Regions from separate parts of the Homo sapiens genome. Here all the other regions are linked to region 3. Evidence: promoter capture Hi-C in human tissues and cell types (Jung and others, 2019). All regions are on one chromosome and are shown on one strand. Each heading gives the region's core, a stretch centred on a gene start or on the middle of the fragment in contact. The rest is flanking DNA. Distances are from core to core; before and after follow the strand shown.

Evidence for each region. Contacts are between HindIII fragments. The study calls those that stand out against the background at their distance.
Region 1: a fragment that was not itself captured here is called in contact with the fragment with the promoter of PSMA6 in region 3 in 1 of the 25 tissues and cell types used here (mesendoderm cells).
Region 2: a fragment that was not itself captured here is called in contact with the fragment with the promoter of PSMA6 in region 3 in 1 of the 25 tissues and cell types used here (dorsolateral prefrontal cortex).

What each region holds. Positions count from the first base shown.
Region 1 is chr14:35,001,493-35,005,693 of GRCh38, reverse strand. The region is part of intron 4 of SRP54 (signal recognition particle 54); the gene reads right to left. Among named protein-coding and RNA genes, the nearest start is that of SRP54, 21 kb to the right of the region's middle. The HindIII fragment of the contact is 3,646 bases long and covers 1-3,280 here.
Region 2 is chr14:35,683,623-35,687,864 of GRCh38, reverse strand. RALGAPA1 (Ral GTPase activating protein catalytic subunit alpha 1) reads left to right here. Exons shown (of 42, transcript NM_001346249.2): 19 at 1,199-1,323; 20 at 2,720-2,936; 21 at 3,880-4,056. Among named protein-coding and RNA genes, the nearest start is that of SNORA101B, 77 kb to the left of the region's middle. The HindIII fragment of the contact is 3,903 bases long and covers 232-4,134 here.
Region 3 is chr14:35,290,996-35,295,320 of GRCh38, reverse strand. It overlaps PSMA6 (proteasome 20S subunit alpha 6), which reads right to left and starts at 2,939. Exons shown (of 7, transcript NM_002791.3): 1 at 2,769-2,939. The coding sequence starts at 2,844. All of the region lies in intron 9 of PRORP-PSMA6 (PRORP-PSMA6 readthrough), which reads right to left. RefSeq lists enhancers at 843-1,022, 2,476-2,535, 2,616-2,735, 2,856-2,935, 2,652-3,238. The HindIII fragment of the contact is 27,585 bases long and covers 1-4,325 here.

The DNA of each region.
Region 1 (4,201 bases), core at 208-2,707, 290 kb after region 3:
GTGTGGTGGCTCATGCCTATAATCCCGGCCCTTTCAGCGGGGGGACAAAGGAGGAGGATTCATTGAGACCAGGAGTTTGAGACCAGCTTGGGCAGCATAGCAAGATCTTGTCTCTACTAATTTAAAGAATTGGCCAGGTGTGGTGGCACGCACCTGTGGTCCCAGCTAATCAAGGAGGCTGAGGCAGTAAGATTGCTTGAGCCCAGGAGTTTGAGACTGCAATGAGCTATCATCAGGCCACTGTACTCCGGCCTGGGCAACAGGCTGTAAAGTTATTACATTTCTAGTTATTACATTGAAAAAAATTTCAATCTAATACAGTCATGCCCATTCATTTACCACTTTTTTTGTTTTTTTGAGACAGGGTCTTACTCTGTTACCCAGGCTAGAATGCACTGGTACAATCAATCATGGCTTACTGCAGTCTCGAACTCTTGGACTCAAGCGATCCTACCATCTCAGCCTCCTGAGTAGCTGGAACTACAGGCATATGCCATGATGTCTGGCTAACTTTAGTATTTGTTTGTAGAGATGGAGTATTGCTATGTTGCCCAGACTGGTTTTGAACTCTTGGCCTCAAGTAATCCTCCAGCCTTGGCCTCCTGAAGTGCTGAGATTACAGGTATAAGCCACTGTGCCTGACCCATTTACTGCTTTTGTGCCACAACAGCAGAGCTGAGTAGTTGCAATAGAAATCACGTGGTCCACAAAGTCTAAACCTTTGAGAGAAAGTCTGCCAAGCCATCCATAAAAATTACATCATCTATATTATACTTGAATTTCAAGGAAAGCCATGAGGTAGAGAAGAGAGGAAAATACATTTTCTTATACCTTTCCTAGGCATCAACCTACCCTTAGGCAAACTTTTGAAATAGGCAAAATCTGTCTTAAACATAAATCCACTTCCCTTCCTCATAGATCCTTTCAGTACACTGATGCTGCTCCACATTCATCTCCATTTTCTACATGTCATGGCAAAAACTCCCAGCTCTCTATGGACCCATTATTTGGAACATATATGTTTTAGTAAATAATTTTATAAATTTGTCTTCTCTTCCTCCCACCATCAAGAACAGCAGTTTTCAACTTCTTGGTCTCAGGGCTTCTTTATAATCATGGTAGTTTGTAAAGGTTAGCTGCAATGTAGAATCTGAAACCATATAAACTTTTATACTCGTTACATTAAAATCTGTGATTCCATCTTGCATTTTAAATGAATCTTATACTGGTAAATGATCTTGTAACATCACGCACTAGCTATTCACAAAACATTGGTTCACTGAGTTAGGCAGATCTCTCGTCATTGACATATTTCACTATACATAATCAAAAAACTTTATTCATTAATATCAATACTGACCCTCATCAGAAAACTAAGTACTGGGATACTGTCAAACTCATGATAGAGACAGATGATAGATACAAGTCCTTTTTATTTTTATTTTAGATGGAGTTTCGCTCTCGTGGCCTAGGCTGGGTGCAATGGTGTCATCTCAGCTCACTGCAACCTCTGCCTCCCAGGTTCAAGCCATTCTCCTGCCTCAGCCTCCCAAGTAGCTGGGATTACAGGCATGTGCCACTAGACATGGCTAATTTTTTTTTTTTTTATTTAGTAGAGACGGAGTTTCACCATGTTGGTCAGGCTGGTCTCAAACTCCTGACCTCAGGTGATCCACCTGCCTTGGCCTGCCAAAGTACTGGGATTACAGGCATGCGCCACCATGCCTGGAAGCTTTATTTATTTATTTATTTATTTATTTTGAGACAGGTCTCGCTCTGTCACCCAGGCTGGAGTGCAGTGGCGTGGTCTCGGCTCACTGCAACCTCCACCTCCCGGATTCAAGCGATTCTCCCACCTTACCCTCCCGAGTAACTCGGTTTACAGGTGTAAGCCATCGTTCCCAGCTAATTTTTGTATTTTTTGTAGTGATGGGGTTTCACCATGTTGCTCAGGCTGGTCTCAAACTCCTGGGCTCAAAGAGTAGTAGTCCCAGCTACTAGGAGGCTCAGGTGTAGGGATCACCTGAGCCCAGGGAGGATGAGGCTGCAGCAAGCCATGATCACACCACTGCACTCCAGCCTGGGCAACAGAGTAAGACCCTGTCTCAAAAAAAAAAAAAACCAAAAAAACCAAAAAAACAAAAAACAAACAAACAAAAAACATGGTGGTGCATGCCTGTAGTCCTAGCTTCTCTGGAGGCTGAGGAGAGAAGATCGCTCGAGCCCAGGAATTTGAGGCCGCAGTGAGCTCTGATCACGCCACTGCACTCTAGTTTGAATGACAGGGACTCTGTCTTCAAAAATAAATAAATAAATAGAGAGTCCAGAAACTACTAGTATCATCTGGTGCCACTGCCTTGATTCATACCAGGGAGTTTTACCTACCATTGTTTTCAGTGCAAATGTCAACATAGTACAAAAGTCAAATAATGTCTTAGTATTATGAAAATAATTTTGACCTTGCTTTGTACACCATTCCTCTAGACCATAAGCATCTGAGTATAAGAACCAGTCTCATTTATTTCTGCTATCAGCAGCATTTGGCATACTTCCTGAAATAAAGTAGGTACTCAATAAATGCTTCTTAATAAAGCACTTGATGCTCCAGAATTGCCTACAGTTACGAGCCCCTAACAATAAAAATTTCTGGCCAGGCAAAGTGGCTGACATGTGTAATCCTAACACTTTGGGAGGCCAAGGCAGGTGGATCACTTGAGGTCAGGAGTTCAAGACCAGCTAGGGCAACATGGCAAAACCTTGTCTCTACAAAAAATGCAAAAACTAGCTGGGCGTGGTGGCATGTACCTGTAGCCCCAGCTACTTGGGGGGCACTGAGGCAGGAGGATTGTTTGAGCCCAGGAGGTTGAGGCTACAGTGAGCCATGATTGCACCACTACACTCCAGCCTGGGTAACAGAGTCAGACTGTCTCTTAAAAAAAAAAAAAAAAAAAAAAAAGGAGGCCAGGCACAGTGACTCATGGTTGTAGTCCCAGCACTTTGGGAGGCTAAGGCAGGCAGATCACTAGGTCAAGAGATAGAGACCATCCTGGCCAACATGGTGAAACCCCATCTCAACTAAAAATACAAAAAAAAATTAGCTGGGCGTGGTGGCACACACCTGTAATCCCAGCTACTTGGGAGGCTGAGGCAGGAGAATTGCTTGAACCTGGCAGGCAGAGGTTGCAGTGAGCAGAGATCATGCCATTGCACTTCAGCCTGAGTGACAGAGGGAGAGTCAAAAAAAAAAAAAGAAAATATTCAAACAATGTGGGGGAAAAATGATTGTAGAACTAGTGGGCATCTAATGCTCTAAAAAATTTTTTTTGTTTGTTTTTTTTTAAAGACAGGGTCTCACCCTCTCCCCCAGTCGGGAGTGCAGTGGCACAATCACGGCTCACTGCACCCCCGAACTCCTGGGCTCAAGCAATACTCCTGCCTCACCCTCCGGAGTAGCTGGAACTACAGATGTGCACCACCATGCCCGGCTAATTTTTGTATTTTTAGCAGAGATGGGGTTACACCATGTTGGCCAGGCTGGTCTCGAACGCCTGACCTCAGGTGGTTACCCATCTCAGCCTCCCACAGTGCTGGGATTACAGATGTGAGCCACTGCACCCGGCCTGCACCAGCTATTTTTATCAATTTTTTTTTTTTTTATAGAGACTGGTTCTCACTATGTTGCCCTGGTTGGTCTCAAACTCCTGGCCTCAAGCAATCCTCCCACCTCCGCCTCCCAAAGCACTGTGATTACAGGCATGAGCCACCATGCCTGGACTAAAATAATTTTTTTAACAGCTCCTTTCTTTTTTTTTCTACAACTGAGCCCATATATATTTTTTAAGCTCTAAGATTTTCACCATAATTTGCATGATCAGCAATAAGGTGAGGCAGGGCAACTGGCTATATTTACTATTTGAAAATAAAACTTTCACTAATTCAAAATTGCTCATAATCTAGGCAAGAATTGGGATACATGGTCTTTGCAAAGGGAATTCCTTACACAACGAACAGTGTAGAAAAGAATACTTGCTATATGTGACTTTGCCATACAAAAGCAGGACCATCACTAGGCAAAACATGATAGTGAACGAGGAAAAACTTAGGCCCTTCCATCAACAAATCTGTAGTGAAATTTCACTCATCGCATCTTGGCTTTGGCATTTTTTGCAGGAATAGTACTAGCTTTCATATCTGCACTCAG
Region 2 (4,242 bases), core at 934-3,433, 390 kb before region 3:
CAAACATGCTGTAGGCTTTTAGTTTTGCATTCATTTATATAGAATGCAAGTTATGTCCTTGAAACACTTTAATTACTTTGTTTTTTTCTGAGATTTTAAATGTGCATAAAGGTTTCACAGTAGCCACTCATGATTTAAATATGGAACCTCTATGGACAGATAACAGAAAGCAAGATTATGGTAACTGTTTTCTCTATCTTGAGTCAAAGTTAAAATAACTTTACATATATAGACTATTAACTTTCAGCAGTAAGGTTGGTTTTGATTTTATTTGTTTTAACATGGTTTTGTTAGCATGATTAACAACGCTGTATAATGCATCTTGCATTGAGCCATTAATGCCACCTGAGGGCAGTATTTGACAGCTTAGCAAAGCCTGGCCAGTAATATAAAGATAATGGTATTTCACAGTGAGCTTCTGACCAGTGTGTTTTTTTAATCTGAAATACTTTGTAGTTTATTAGGAATATAAACAGTGCTCATTTTCCTTTCATTGCAGAGAAATCAACTTTTCAATAGCATAGTAGTGACATAGATACCATATTATTTTCTATAAGTTAGTTTCCCAAGTCTAAAACTTTCTTGTTAATGTAAATGGTAAAAATAATAATAATGTAGTGATAAAAAAATCAAAATAACTATTTTGGGTTTTTTTGGTAAGAAAAACATTTGTGGAAGTCAACTTTTTATTCTTAAAGCATTAAAATTAGATTTTATAGTGGATAGAAACAGCAGTATATCAAAACCATAGAATTTGTATTTATAAATACTCAAATGCATTTGTATCCCACTGAGTTTTGCATAGATTCAAAGGATGTATTCCCTGCAAACGTTCTTTGGGGGAAATACGGAATTATAAATTGTTAAGGCTCTAAAAAGAAACATTGAGTCAGGAAAAAAGATAAATATACCAGTTTCTTTATAGGCAATATTAACCTAACTTCAGCTAGTGCTTATCTATAAGCTTTCTTGCTGTTTAAAGTTACACTGAAGATTGACTAACATCTGCTTAGTTAAATAAAGTAAATATCAATTTACTAATTCTTAAAATTAAATCTGAAAGAAGGGAAATTATTCATAAATGCATGTTTGGCAAATAATTGGCAAAGGTACTTTGTTTTGGGTTGTTGTTTGTTTCAAAGTTAGAAAATGCAGTTAAGTTTTTCCTCACTATATATAGTTATTTATTTATTTTTAGTCAATAAAGAGGACATGAGCCAAAAACTGCCTCCTCTTAATAGTGATATTGGCGGCAGCAGTGCTAATGTTCCTGATCTGATGGATGAGTTTATAGCAGAACGACTTCGAAGTGGTAATGCCTCGGTAAGTTTTATTTTATATATTTGGTTTTATAGAGGAGGGTAGAAAAACTAACAGATATATACCTATGTACATATATGTCAATTTATATATGGGAATTTTTATTCAAAATAACCTTTCCTCAAAATATAACCCTTTTTATGAATTAAGATTTTTGAATTACATTTTTATAACATTTTTTATCTAAAGACATAAACAGCCTCATAATTTTCACCAGGGTGAAAGATCAGACAGGTACCTGTGCACAAATACACAGGTATAAGCAACTACCTTCCTAGTCTCCCCTTTTTTTGTCTTTGCTCGTAGGTTACCCTGGTGCCAGCTGCAAGCCCTCAATGGGAAAGATAGCAATGGAGGTCTTCTGCCCCAGCTCCCGTAGTTATATAAATAAATAAATATAATCTAATATATAATTTAAAATAAAAATACATATATAATTTTTATTTTTGTCTCAAGATCTGCTTGTGAACCAGCTCCCATAGTTTTGCTAGCACAAATACTGCTTAACCATTTTAGATAACTTTGGAAGAGACTTAAAAGTTATCTTTATCTTGAATGTTAGGAGTATGGCAACATGAAAGCAGAAGCTCTTTTATCCCTAATAATGCTTAATTGTTAGGGAAGGATAAATATATATGGAACTAGTTTCTTTTGAGACAGAGTGTCGCTTTGTCGCCCAGGGTGGAGTGCAGTGCTCACTGCAGCCTCCGTCTCCCGGGTTCCAGCAATCCTCCTGCCTGAGCCCCCTGAGTAGCTAGGATTACAGGTGCACACCACCATGCCTGGATAATTGTTCTATTTTTAGTAGAGACAGGGTTTCACCATGTTGGCCAGACTGGTCTCGAACTCCTGACCTCAGGTGATCTGCCCACCTCAGCCTCCCAAAGTGCTGGGATTACCAGAGTGAGCCACTGTGCTGGACCTGGAATTGCTTTTTTTAAACTGTCATATTTCATTTGGGTTTGACTTCTCTATAACTCCATTATATACCCCGCCCCTTTCTTTTTAGGCTTACTTTTTTCCCTTGAGTGGATAAAAATCATTGAATGACATCTTTGCTGTCATTCTTTCCACTCTTCCACTGTCTTTTTTATTTGCTGCTTTTTTTCCACTAAATACTCTTTCTGCTGTTTTAATTTATATTCACTGCATGGATCCTGCTGAGGCTTAAGAGTCACAGGCCCAGCATCATGTGATATTTGGGTCTTTAGGCAGACCAACAATAGGTCAGGCTCTAGCTCCATTCAGTTACATAGATTGTTTGGTGAGTGTGTTCTCCACTCCTACTTCAGCCTCTAAATCTCAGCATTTATTGTGATGGTTTGGAAATTAAAGGTTTCAGATGGTTAAAGAGAATAAAAGCTTTTTCTTAATGGTAAAATATTTCTTGAACGTTTAGACTATGACAAGAAGAGGAAGTAGTCCAGGCAGCCTGGAAATTCCCAAAGACCTCCCTGATATTCTAAACAAGCAGAACCAGATGCGCCCTATTGATGACCCAGGTGTGCCCTCAGAATGGACTTCTCCTGCCAGTGCAGGGAGCAGTGATCTTATCAGCTCAGATAGTCATTCGGATTCTTTCAGCGCTTTCCAATATGATGGCCGAAAATTTGACAGCAAGTATCTTTTCTATTTGAATACTATGTTTTATGTTGATTGTCTTCTGTTCAAGACTGACTTACGGATTATGTAGCCATCACCTTCCTCTCCAGTGTTACTTAGGCAGTGGCTCCCACGTTAGAAAAAAAAAAATTAGATATTTGGTCTTGCTATGTTGTCTGGGCTAGTCTTGAACTCCTGGCCTGAAGCAGTCCTCCTGCGTCAGCCTTCCGAGTAGCTGGGATTACAGGTGCAAGGCATCATTCTTGGCCCCACTTATTTTTATTTCAATTTTCAGTGAAATTTCAAAGGAAGTTTTAGGGAATCACCTTAAGTTGAAGCTACTTTATGTTGCCAAATTAAGAGCATTTAAAAAACAAAAAATGTGATCCCTTCTTAAAAGAAATGACATTTTTAAGACCAAAACTGTAGAAAGGAAAATAATTTAGGATAGACCTGTTACTAAAAAGCCAGTCATGATTATGAGTTGCCACTGTTTCACACACTCATATTTGAGAACCAAATATTTGGATTATGTTCAATGCTACAGTACCCAGAACTTCCTTTGAATAATTGCCCCTTGTTACAATAACATCAGTAATATTATTTGGTGCTATATTATTACCACTTAGTTATTCAGCTATAATTCTATATTGCACTTGGCAGTCAGTGAAGGGCACCAAATTTTTAAAAAAGAAGTCAAAACCTTGGGAACTAAGTTTGTGAAGAGCTGGGATATGCATTGGAGAATTACATGTTTCCTCCCTTCATGGCTTGTACACTATCCCGATCTACTTATAATCTTCAGAGTATTAAGATTATTTACACTTGTCTGAGTGATATGTAAACAGAATAGATGTACGGGGAATGTTTATGTTTGATCATTTTGCTGATTTAGCTCTCGTAAATATTTTTACTTTGTAATTGGGACTCATATAATAACATTTCTTCTTCCTATAGATTTTGGCTTTGGAACCGACACTGGGGTTACGTCCTCTGCTGATGTGGATTCAGGTTCTGGCCATCATCAGAGTGCTGAAGAGCAGGAAGTGGCTAGTCTAACTACTCTTCATATAGATTCTGAAACAAGCAGTCTTAATCAGCAAGCTTTCTCTGCTGAAGTTGCAACTATTACTGGTAAAGTTATTCATGGGAATGTGTTTCTTAAATGTATTTTTTAAGCCTTCAAAGAATTTGATTAAAATTTTGAGAGATTTTAAGTATTACTTATTACTATTTAAGTATATTTTTTCATTCATCTTTATGTAACAATGAAGGGGAGAAAAGACATTAGTTTCTTGACCTGAGGTCCACTGGGTTAAG
Region 3 (4,325 bases), core at 1,690-4,189:
TGTCACCCAGTCTGGAGGTGCAATGGCACGGTCTTGGCTCACTGCAACCTCTGCCTCCTAGGTTCAAGCGATTCTTGTGCCTCAGCTTCCTGAGGAGGTAGGACTACAGGCACGCCAGCACAAGCAGCTAGTTTTTTGTATTTTTAGTAGAGACAGAGTTTCACCATGTTGGTCAGGCTGGTCTTCAACTCCTGACCTCAGGTAATCTGCCCACCTCGCCCTCCCAAAGTGCTGGGATTACAGGTGTGAGGCACTGCACCTGGCCAAGCATTATAACTTTAAATGTCTACCTCTATTTTTTGATATATCAACTTTAGACGACATTTATCTTTTGAGTCCCAAGTATGGAAGATAAAGAGCATAGTTACCTTCCATTAATCTCCCCTCATCATCATCCCATTTTTAAAATATTATTTTCCTACTGTCAATGTTAACAACTTGCATCCTATAATCCTTCCATGCTTTGTCTTTGGAGGATTCTAAAGTTTACAAACAGACAGTATTTAGAATATTATGATTATGTATATATTTTACTGGAGAACTAAGCATGGAAGGACCCATAAAAAGGGAAATATTCCATACAGAGCTACTAATCTAATAGACCAAAAAAAAAAGGGGGGGCCAAAGAATCAAACAAGCATCTAATAACATTCACTGAGCATTTACTATGTGGCAGGCACACGTTAAGCACTCTACATACATTGCCTTATTTAATTCTCAAAACCACCATTTAAGGAAGAATTATTATGAGCCCAACTTTGGAAAGAGAAACTAAGGCTAAGGTTACATACCTGGCAAGTGCCCAGATCAGGTAGTATGGAGCAGGGCAGAGATTTGAATCCATGTATGACTCCAGGGCCTGAACTCTTCACTATACTGCTTGCTCATACTACTCTTTCACTTTCATTTTCCTAACAATGTCTAATTAATGCCCTGAATAGCAGAGGGAGTGTGTTATTCACAGAGATTAAAATCATTCTGTCTAGGCTGGTGCTAGGCCCGGTGCTCACGCCTGTAATCCCAGCACTTTGGGAGGCCGAGGTGGGTGGATCACCTGAGGTTGGGAGTTCGAGATCAACATGGAGAAACCTCGTCTCTACTAAAAATACAAAATTAGCCAGGCGTGGTGGCGCATGCCTGTAATCCCAGTACTTGGGAGGCTGAGGCAGAATTGCTTGAACCCGGGAGGCGGAGATTGCGGGGAGCCGAGATCGCGCCATTGCACTCCAGCCTAGGCAACAAGAGTGAAGCTCTGTCTCAAAAAAATAAAAATAAATAAAAAATCATTCTGTCTAGATAATGAACTTGTTTTCAGATAGATGTTCTCTTCCAAATCTTTTAAAACCATCACAATGACACTGTGTTCAGCCTTTCCACTCACCAAATCTGGGAAGCATTAACGATTATGCTTTATGGCTGGACTTCACAATACAGTATATAGAAACAAAGTAAAGGTCTCAGAGTGACTTTTCCTGTTCACATATTAAAAATCACGAATGGAACGCTGAAAGCAGTAGTCTAATATACGAAAATTATTTAAAACTCAGGAATTTAATACAATAAATGAAAATTCTTTGAGGATACAGTTATCTCTTTGTTCTATCTTTAATCATGTTTTTCAATTGGGGATAAATTAAAAGGGCTACTGAATTATCCAACAAGATGTTTCTTGCTACATTATATACACTATGCAGTAATACACTGAGCAGTTTCATTCCAAGTTATCTTTAACTCTATTTCTAAAATTTACAGGTGAAGAGAACCTCATTTACAGACCAACTCTCTCCTTATGATTCCAAGCACAGATGATTATATTACTGTGCAAGACACGGAGCCACTAAACTCATTCAAAAATAAAACCATCACGGACCAGATGTAAATCAAGCCCTCCTGACACTAAATTCTCTATGGTAAGAGATCAAGGGTCTGGCTTATAATCATAACCTAAACCTTGACACCGTTTCAGCGCAATACATTACTATTCCGAGTAACTGATAGTTTCTTTCCACTACAGGTGTTCTTCAGTAAACTAGTACACAGTACCTCATCTACAACTCAGAATCGGCATTTAAATTACAGGAGCATTCAAACAGATGTGGGTAAAAAGGGGATGCCAATCTCAAGAGCAGCTCTAGAATTGAGTCACTCATTCTATCAGATTCCCAAAGATGTCTTGAACTCTGTAGATATTTGTAAATTGGCACTTTTAATTTTTTTTATCCGTTTGTTTAACGTATCTGTCACTCTAAGCTGTGAGCTTCAGTATAGAAGAGGGTGTAACATTCACATTTGTATCTCCTAGGACTAGCAGTGTCTGGTATATAGCAGGCTTCGAGTGCCTGTGTGGAATTAACCACAGAAGTCCATGCTGCAAACAAAGGAAAACGGAGAGGAGGCATTTTAGTTGAGACGTTAAGGAATCAATTACCCTTTAGAAACAGACCTTGTGCCTGGCCAGGACAGAATACAATAACTGAAGGGGCCTCACGAAGCCGGAGTCAGGCATTACAGCCCTATCTTCCTTAACTCTCCATTGGGTCTACGCAGTGTGGCCGCTCGCCCTGCAGAGACAGGCCTTCAGGCCCCCGATCCCTGCGTCCAGACGGGGGTGCAAACACCACAGAGCTCAATCCAGCTTCAGCCGTTCTCCCTTCCCAGCTCCAGCCCAGCTTCGGCCCCAGACTAAACCCGGGCCGCGTCTGCTCGCTCCAGGCACGTACCATGACAGGGCAATTCAGGTGGCCCACAGGCGAACCTGGTTCACTCACCTACTTGGTAGAGCCGACCCTCGGGTGAAAAAATGGTAATGTGGCGGTCAAAACCGGCGCTGGAACCACGGGACATGTTGGTAGAAGCACTACTTTAAACACAATCCCTGGGCCCCGTAGCTCCCGCACCAGGCACACAAGCACCTCCCGGAAGTTGCAGCGACTGCTTCCGGGGTACCAGCCGCGTTTCTTCCGCTCTTGCATGCCGAACTCACGGCTCTGGAGCCAGTTCGAGCACTGAGCTCTGAGGCCCCGCCCCCTAAGGGGGTGGTGGAGTGAGGGCGGGAGGCCTTTGAAGGTATGCGCCTGCGCCAAGCAGGCCTCTTGAGTGGATAGACGTGAAACTTGGGTCGTGGCGCTTTCAGGCTTTCATCTGGAGAATGAATTGACTATAGCAAGGACGAAAAGGCTTCCTGGGGGCCCAGAATAGCGATTTGCCTATCAGTGTGACCTAAATAGAACGTGTAATTAACAAGTCTCTTACATGCATCCTGTGTCTGGTCAGACTGCTGGCTTGCCTTCTTCCTAACCTCTTTTATCCTCCACTTTCATTCCTATTACGGGGGAAACAGGTTGCAGCTGCAGCTGCAGCCGTTAAATTTAGGCACTGAAGGAAGCGGGTTCAAGCAGCCGCTGGAAAGAACATTATTTTCTGACAGCCAGGCAAGATCTTCTTTTGGCCAGCAGCCCCGACAATTTTTAGTCTTTTTTTTTTTTTTTTTTTTTTTTGAGACAGAGTTTCGCCCTTGTTGCCCAGGCTGGAGTGCAATGGCGCGATCTCGGCTGACTGCAACCTCCCCCTCCTGAGTTCAAGCGATTCTCCTGCCTCATCCTCCCGAGTAGCTGGGATTATAGGCGTGTGCCACCAGGACCGGCTAATTTTGTATTTTTAGTAGAGGCGGGGTTTCGCCATGTTGGTCAGGCAGCTCTCGAACTCCTGAGCCCAAGTGATCCACCTTCCTCGGCCTCCCAGAGTGCTGGGATTACAGGCTTGAGCCACAGTGCCCAGGCAATTTTTAGTCTTGAAAGCGGAGGCCGGGCGCGGTGGCTCACGCCTGTAATCCCAGCACTTTGGGAGACCAAGGCGGGCGGATCACGAGGTCAGGAGATTGAGACCATCCTGGCTAACACGGTGAAACCCCGTCTCTACTAAAAAATACAAAAAAAATTAGCCAGGCGTGGTGGCGGGCGCCTGTAGTCCCATATACTTGGGAGGCTGAGGCAGGAGAACGGCGTGAACCGGAGAGGCGGAGCTTGCAGTGAGCCGAGATCATGCCACTGCACTCCAGCCTGGGCGACAGAGCGAGACTCCGTCTCAAAAAAAAAAAAAAAGAAAGAAAGCCTAACTCCAGCCTGGCCAACATAGGAAGGCCCCGTCTCTACAAAAAATAAAATTAGCTGTGCGTGGTGGCGCGCGCCAGTAGTCCCAGCTACTCGGGGGGCTAAGGTGGGAGGATGGCTTGAGCCCAGGAGATCCAGGTTGCAGTGAGCTATGATCACGCCACTGCACTCCAGCCTGGGCGACAGAGGAAGATCTATCTAAATAAAAAAAAAAAA